Regions from separate parts of the Homo sapiens genome. Here region 1 is linked to region 2. The links are contacts of gene promoters, found by promoter capture Hi-C in blood cells and fetal thymus (Javierre and others, 2016). All regions are on one chromosome and are shown on one strand. Each heading gives the region's core, a stretch centred on a gene start or on the middle of the fragment in contact. The rest is flanking DNA. Distances are from core to core; before and after follow the strand shown.

Region 1 (3,908 bases), core at 1,294-3,793, 490 kb after region 2:
AGCACAGGCTGCACCCAGCTTCCACACCGCTCTACTCATTCCCAGTTGCCTTTGAGATGCCAGGTGACAGTCCTCAATTCCTGCTGCTTTGTTATGCAAAGCCAAAAGCTTTCTCTGAATCTCCTTCTCTCCTTCCAGACCACAGGCCCAGCCACAGAGGAGGAGAGGCTGACTACTCAAAAAGAAGTAGTTCAAGTTTAATTTTTAAGTCAAAGAGCCATCACACCTGGGTAACTCATGTCAGTCTCCTAGTATGTGAAATGGTGAGAATCAGTTTTTGTTCCAATAGCAATTTTTCCCTTCTTTTTGCCCTTACTTGTCCAATCCCCAGCTCTGAGCCATCCATAGTTCTCTCACCCAAACTAAGCCAGGAGTGATTTGAAGGCAGGGATTGTGCCATATTCATCTCTACATCTCTAGGCACTAATAGGGTGCCTGGCACCAAAGTTAGTGAGAAGGAAGAAGCCTTGGGCACAGAGCCTTTTTCATCACCCTCCTAGCCACACCTCTTTGGCAACCTATCTCCCCAAGTGTGGGTAATTCCAGCCTGCTCAGAACTTCTACTTGCCAGGGTCTGAGGCCATCTGAGAGATGAACTGGGCCAAATGAGAGAGAAAACAGATTAAACAGGCCTTGATTTTTTTAACCACGCTTGGATAATTATCTTTAGAATTTGATTTTGCTCTTTTTACTTAGTCCAAAATGCATATATCATTAAATTCTTATGATTTGACCATACTTTACAACAGTGACATTTGCAATTACAGTTTTGAGTTCTTCTCTACCAACAATGGAGCAAGTTTTGGTACTATAACTCAGGAATAGCCTATTTGGTTGAGATAATTACGCTGCCTATTTAAAATAAATGAAGATGACTTGGGAATTAGGATCAGGAAGAAGGATTTAGTCTTTAGTTCAATTTAATCACCAAACATCATCTCTGTATATTTAAAAGAACAAGATATAAAAATACAATAATTTTCACTGAGTGTTTTTATCTCAAACATTGTTGATATTTTTAATCTGGATTTCCACTTAACTTCAAGTATCTATTAGGCAGCCTGCTCTGGCGAAGAGCTTTGCAATCAGGCAGACCTAGGTTCAAATCCTGGTCCTACCACTTCCTACATATGCAAACTCAGACACAGGGGTCACCCAGGACAGTACAGAGTTCTGGATCATACGAACTGGCAAAATTCTGATTTAGTAAGTCTTAAATGGGACCTGGTTCAATTTTGAAATACGTTTACACTTAAAGAAAAGTTGCACATGACAAGACCCCATCTGATATCATTTGGTTGGGTCCCCACCCAAATCTCATCTTGAATCATAGTTACCATAATCCCCATGCGTCATGGAAGGGACCAGGAGGAGATAATTGTATCATGGGGGGTGGGGGTTACCACATGATTCTTATGATAATGAGTTAGCTCTCATGATAGCTGATGGTTTTATAAGGGGTTTCCCCCTTTGCTGAGCACTCATTCTCTCTCCTGCCACCCTGTGAAGAGGTACCTTCTGCCATGATTGTAAATTTCCTGAGGCCTCCCCGACCATGTGGAATTGTGAGTCAATTAAACTTCTTTCCTTTATAAGTTACCCAGTCTCAGGTATGTCTTTATTAGCAGCATGAGAATCGACTAATACACCATCCCTACAAAAATTTTTAAAATTAGCTGAGCCTGGTGCTATGCACCTGTTCCAGCTACCCAGCTACCCAGGAGGCTGAAACAGAAGGATCACTTGAGCCCAGGAGTTTAAGGCTACAGTGAGTTATGTCACTTTACTCCAGCCTGGGTGACAGAGCAAGACCTTGTCTCAAAAACAAAACAAAACAAAAAAAAAAAGGAGGAAAGAAAGAAAAGAAAAATTTGTTGCAAAAACAGTACAGACAGTTTCCATATGTCCTTTACCTAGCTTCTTTTAATGTTAGCAACTTGCATAGCCATAACACAATTATCAAAGATAAGAAATTAACATTGACACAATGCTATACCTACATGGAGTGATACTTATTCAATTTTCACCAGTTTTTCCACCAAAATCTTTTTCTCTTACAGGATTCCACATTACATTTTGTCGTCATGTCCCCTTAGTCTCCGCCACACTATGACAGTTCCTTAGTCTTTCCTTGACTTTCATGACCTAGACACTTTTGAAGATGAGTGGTAAATATTTTATAGAATGTTGCTCAATTTGTGTTTGTCTGATGTTTTCTCAAGATGAGATTGATGTTTTACATTTTTAGCAAGAATGCCACCAAAGTGAAGTGCCCTTCTCAGTGTATCGTTTTGGGTTAGGAGATATCATTATATCTCACTACTGGTGAGGTTAACCTGGATCACTCAATTAAGGTGGTGTCTGCTGGAGTTTTCTGCTGTCAAGTTAGTATGTCTCCATTTGTGATTAATAATCTTGAGGGAGATACTCTGAGAGAGTAAATATTGTGTTTCTCCTCAAACTTCCACACACTGATGTCTGCAACAATTATTAATGGGGTATTCTAATGGTGAGTTTCTATTTCCTTCCTTCTACCTTTATTAGTTAGAATTTTCCAGGAAGAGTTCTGTAAGGAAAAGTTGTGCCTTCTCTTCATTTTTTCAATTACTTATCAATATCAGTATGGACTCGTGGATATTTATTTTATTCTGAGTTTTAATTCAATGCTATCATTATTTTGTTCTTCAAGATAATCTAATTTTTTAAGAGACAAGGTCTTGTTCTACCACCCAGGCTGGAGTACAGTGGCACCATTGTGACTCACTGCAGGCTTGAACTCCTGAACTCAAATGATCCTCCCGTCTCAGCCTCCTGAGTAGCTGGGACCACAGATGTGCACCCCTATGCTTGGCTAATATGGTTTTTTTTGGTAGAAATGGGTCTCACTTTGTTGTCTGGGCTGGTCTTGAACTCCTGGTTTCAAGTGATCCTCCCACCTTGGCCTCCCAGTGTTTGGATTACAGGCATGAGCCACTGCACCTGGCCTTGAATAATCTGACTTTTTAAAGCTAGTTAAGGAATCGTTGACTTAGTCTCTCTGTTTTCTCATCTGTAAAATGAAAACAATAACAACATTCCTCTTAAAGTGTTAGGGTGAAGATTAATAACATCATGTGTGTAAAGCCCTCAGCTCATCGCTTACTTACAGTAGACTTTCAATATATATTACTATATTGTCAAGAGAGGCATTATGTAAATATCTGTGTTAGATACAGACAGGAGCTGGCAGCATAGTGTAGTCTGGTCAATCATGGAATAGATCTTAGGAAAACAAATAACTCAGGAATTCCATTTTGGAGGAAGAAGAGCAGAACTAGCTCTGCTACTAACTAGCCACTAATGTTAGACAAATCACCTCTCCATCTGAAACTCAATTTCCTCATAGATAAACATTGGAGGGCCTTTCCAATTCTAACACTGTGTGATACTAACTATTTGAGATATATGGAAAAATTTGGTAACTTACGCAAAGTGAAAAAACAGATCAATGATGCTTCTACAATGACTTGGAGAAGAGACTAATATCCATGAAAACATAACCCAAGTTTTTGCTGCCATTGTAGAAACAGCAATGACAAGAGCAGGGAAAATGACACATGTGGTTTTATTCTTGTCAGGTTCCTGCTCCATCTCCTAGTAAAATCCACATTATTTCCCTACCATTGAGTCTTACATATGACTTTTTTTTTTTTAATTATTCCTATCAATGACAAACAAGCAACTTCTTTTTGTAGTACTTGCAATTACATAATTGTGTTTTTAAAATTCATGCAAAAAAATGAAAATTGTTTAAAATAAAACAAACTATGATGTTCGTCTGTATCGTTATGTATCACCAGGGTCTAAGACACTGCCTAGCATTTACTATGAGATCAAATTTTTTTTTTTTTTTTTTTTTTTTGAGACGG
Region 2 (4,554 bases), core at 599-3,098:
CTGTAATGGTTTTTGTTTGTTTGGTTGGTTGGTTGGGCTTTTTTGAGATGGAGTTTCACTCTTGTTGCCTAGGCTAGAGTGCAATGACAATCTCAGTTTACTGCAACTCCGCCTCCCAGGTTCAAGCAATTCTCCTGCCTCAGCCTCGCAAGTAGCTGGGATTACAGGCATGTGCCACCATGCCAGGCTAATTTTGGTATTTCTAGTAGAGACAGGGTTTCACCATGTTGGTCAGGCTGGCCTTGCACAACTGACCTCAGATGATCCGCCCTCCTCAGCCTCCCAAAGTGCTGGGATTACAGGCGTGAGCCACCGCGCCTGGCCCGTATGTTTGTTTTTAATGATGGGGCCTCGCTCTGTCACCCAGGCTGGATTGCAGTGACCTGACTATAGCTCTTCACAGCCTCAAATTGTGGGGATCAAGCTATCCTCCCACCTCAACTTTCTGAGTAGGTGGGGCTACAGGTGTGCCTGGAATGTTTCTTTACTTTTTGTTTGCATTAGAAATATTTCCCCACCTCATTCCATTTTCCATCTCTCTTAATTTTCTAAAATACACGTGTTTTCTAAAACCAGGTCTAAACCCCACCTACAGCTAAAATCCTCCAATAACTTCCCATGACTTTGGTGATAAAATAAAAAATCATTAGCAGAATTGAGAAATCCTTCCTGATCTGACTCTTAACTTCTCTCCCCCAAGTGGCATGAAAGCATCATTTGGATTCTGAATTCCATGACACCAGGTATCAAGTTTTCTACCAGTCAGAATCACTACTTATTTACAGACCATATTTACAGAGGGAGACAATATGGAGAGGTTCTTGCTCTATTCTTGCCATAACACCATGTCTTCAATTTCACAACTAGATATATAGTTCCTATCCCTCTAATTCCCTTCTCCTCTCCAGCGCTTTTTCACTTGATCAACACCTAGCTGATTCTAGCCTCAGCAAAGACCTCACCTGCTGTATGTAGGCCGGCTCTGCCGTTTCCAGAATGGGTTAAGTATGCTCTCTTGTGTGTCCATATCTACCTGTGCTTTCCTATATCCAGATCTCCAACAGCCCCTGTTGTAACATCCTTGTCATCACCATCTCACAGCTCTTACCACTGTAAGCTCCTTGGGGCCAGTGACTGTGTTTTTATTTCTGTATTACTAAGGTGAATATACAAGGCAGGAATTTAATATTAGCTAGTTCATTTGATCCTGCCAAACCTCTGTAATTAAGGAAGCAGAAAAGGTCCCATAGTCTCATTCAATAGGTGGCTGAGGTTTAGAGAGTTTTGTATCCTGTCCAAGGTCTTACAGCTAGTTAGAAACAGAAACTAAATTCTCAACTTGAGTCCTGTATTCTTTCTACTATTCTCCCTCTCAATCCCTCTCTCTCTTTCTCTCTCTCTCTCTTTCTCTCCCTCTCTCTCTCTCACACACACACACACACACACACATACACGCTTACATGTTTCTACCATCGTGAATGAATTCTAGGTCAAGTTTATGATGTTAACCAGATATTCCAACCACTATGTGTTGATATGACTCTAAAAAGAAAAAGATTTCTGAAAGCATTTTGCGAGGCATTTATAGAAGTAAGAGATATTTTCATTTTATCACCGCAACCTCCATTAAAAATTGGAGACTATTATTCCTGGAGACTTCAGAATTTTCTTTGGAAATATCTCCCAATTCAAAAGGAAGTCTGACACAGCCTCATAAAAATCTATGTCGTAATAGGTGCTGTGTCACTGAAAACCACTGAAAAGACAGGGTTAAGAACACAAAGTGAGCTGCACACCATATATGGAGAAACCCGTTTCTTAAAACTAGTGATGAACTCATGCTCTGTTCTGTTTTCTCAAAGCTGAAGTCGGCTAGGTTTGCAAAGCTGTGGGCTGAGCACTCAGGCAATCACACTCTCAGAAACTGCGGCGGCTCTGGACTGCAGCCTCCCAAGGCTCCATGCCAGACAAAGCATGCGTGTCACACTTGCTACAATAGCCTGGATGGTTTCTTTTGTCTCCAATTATTCACACACAGCAAATATTTTGCCAGATATCGAAAATGAAGATTTCATCAAAGACTGCGTTCGAATCCATAACAAGTTCCGATCAGAGGTGAAACCAACAGCCAGTGATATGCTATACATGGTAAGGAAAATATCATTAATTGTGGCGTCAGTCAGTCAGAAACAACTAATGTGTATTGACTTTGGTGTTAATACCTTCGTAATACTGAATGATTTTTTTTTCATTGTGATTAATGTATGCAGTAAATTCACAGTCTGTGATCAAAACACATCCAGTTTAGCTCTGTCTACCCAACTGTTGTTATAAGCAAGTGCCACAGCACATTTTACTTCTCTTTGGACACTTCCTGTTTTCTGGTTTTCAGTGGATTTTACTTCTCTTTTTGTTATCTTCCTCCCTGTTAATTTTTGTGATTTGGTTTTCTTTTTTTTTTTTTTTTTTTGTCTCTAAATTTACTTTTTTTGCTGCTGACAAAGTACTGAGTTGCTCAGGTAGGCAGAATGGCATCTGGGGAAAGGATGGGATTTTGATTCAGTAAGGCTTGGGATTGAATTTCAGATCTGTGGCTTTAAGCTGGTTTTTAACCTTTCTGAACTTCTTAGGATATGGGCTGTTGTGGTTATGGAATAATGTTGTGAAACACGGCACACACTATTTTGCCCACAATTAGCCTTCAGTGAAATGTCAGTTTTCCTCACTTAGATTCTAAATTCCATGAAACTAAATTGTCACGTTTCCTACCAGCCCTACTCAGTGCTTGAAGACCATATTTATAGAGGACTCATATGCAGTGGTATCTTCTCTCCTTATCTCACCTCGTTTTCCATTCAAATTCCCACTGTACTCACCCCAGTTACATTTCAGATGAACCCCCTATTGTTTAATGTTTATTTTTGCAGACTTGGGACCCAGCACTAGCCCAAATTGCAAAAGCATGGGCCAGCAATTGCCAGTTTTCACATAATACACGGCTGAAGCCACCCCACAAGCTGCACCCAAACTTCACTTCACTGGGAGAGAACATCTGGACTGGGTCTGTGCCCATTTTTTCTGTGTCTTCCGCCATCACAAACTGGTATGACGAAATCCAGGACTATGACTTCAAGACTCGGATATGCAAAAAAGTCTGTGGCCACTACACTCAGGTAAGGATCTGCCCTATATTATCTTGAAACTGTCTTTTCAAGTATGAGGAGAAAAATTGTACTATGAAGTTAAGAAAATGTATAGTATGCTAGTATACCTGTAAATATAAGGGAGTTAAATAGAACAGCCTCCAAGAACAGAAAATAATGCTTGAAAAGTTTAGTTGTGTGAACTAAACACATAATAGGTAATATGTGAGGCCCACCAACTTGGACAGGCTTTGAACAATTCCTGTAACAGCTATTCTCCCATAGGACTTTATTCCATTTGTGAGAAATCAAAGAACCTTATGAGTGAAAGGATTTTCAGGTTCCAGCTGTAGCATGAGTTTTAAATGAAATTTGAGCCAATTGTTTTGGGACTATAAAATTGGAAGAAACAAGACTCTCAGACAGAAACATCAATAAGAACTGATGCTTCCACAACCTCTCATTCTCTCAAACATCGACTGAAAACCTACTGTGTGCCATGCACTAGGCACCACGCACGGTGCTACACAAGGAGGGAGAAAAAGTCAGTCCCAGGCCAACAGAGAGGCCAACGTGTAAACTTATATGAACCATTCTGAGGGTATTCTGCCCCCAGAATCCATATTATTAGTCCCAATAGCCACATTCAGAGCCACCCATTGAGTTTTTTTTTTTTTTTTTAATTTTTACTCAAGCTGATTCTGGCTCCCTAACCCTACCTCACATTTGCAGCATGATGGAAACAACTCTCTAGGGAGCATCTGTCATAATTGTCTTCAGACGCTGCCTTCCTGTCCTGGCTACATTTTGTTTATTTACTGTCACTTCCTGGCCATCCTTGTCAAACCAATAACGTACGGTACTTAACCTATAATTGACTGTTTTGGGGCACAAAAAATCAGTTGAAATGAGGTATGAAGGCAAAAACGTTTCTATCAAGGCAGTTACATTGAAACATTAGGTGGTTTTAAGGAACAACATGGTGTAAGAAAACCTCCCTTACTCCAGCTCAGCCTTACAAAGCCTGTGATCTCATTCGTGGTGCTACAGATGAACCAAGTTTGGTGCAGTTACAAAAAATTATTATAAGAGTAAAATGAATTTCTCCTAAATTTACTTCATAAACTAACAATTTTGGTTTACATTTACAAATAAATTTAACCAGGAAATAAGTTTCCTTGGATTCCAACAAGACCTAGGGGAGTAGAAAGCTAAATCTAGATAGCCTACAAGTGGTACTTGTACTGTTATGCATTGCGGTATTTAAATACTCAGAAATAATTGTCAGTTTGAGGGTGCCTACTTTCATTTATTTATTAGTCAGTGTTTAAGCTTTTACCCTATAACAGGCACTAGTGATATGTCTTAGTCCAGATTCTTGGAAAACAGAGCCTGAGACAATAGTTTATGA

The links. The method cuts DNA at HindIII sites, captures the fragments that hold promoters and counts their contacts. A CHiCAGO score of 5 or more calls a contact.
Region 1: a contact is called between a fragment that was not itself captured here and the fragment with the promoter of GLIPR1 in region 2, in 4 of 17 cell types (monocytes, neutrophils, M1 macrophages and 1 more). The highest score is 8.3, in monocytes.

Annotation. Positions count from the first base shown.
Region 1 is chr12:75,970,012-75,973,919 of GRCh38, forward strand. No RefSeq gene overlaps it. Among named protein-coding and RNA genes, the nearest start is that of PHLDA1-AS1, 59 kb to the right of the region's middle. The HindIII fragment of the contact is 4,874 bases long and covers 107-3,908 here.
Region 2 is chr12:75,478,907-75,483,460 of GRCh38, forward strand. It overlaps GLIPR1 (GLI pathogenesis related 1), which reads left to right and starts at 1,849. Exons shown (of 6, transcript NM_006851.3): 1 at 1,849-2,148; 2 at 2,928-3,173. The coding sequence starts at 1,975. It overlaps GLIPR1-AS1 (GLIPR1 antisense RNA 1), which reads right to left. Exons shown (of 2, transcript XR_007063373.1): 2 at 4,548-4,554. RefSeq lists an enhancer at 4,117-4,166. The HindIII fragment of the contact is 5,495 bases long and covers 1-4,473 here.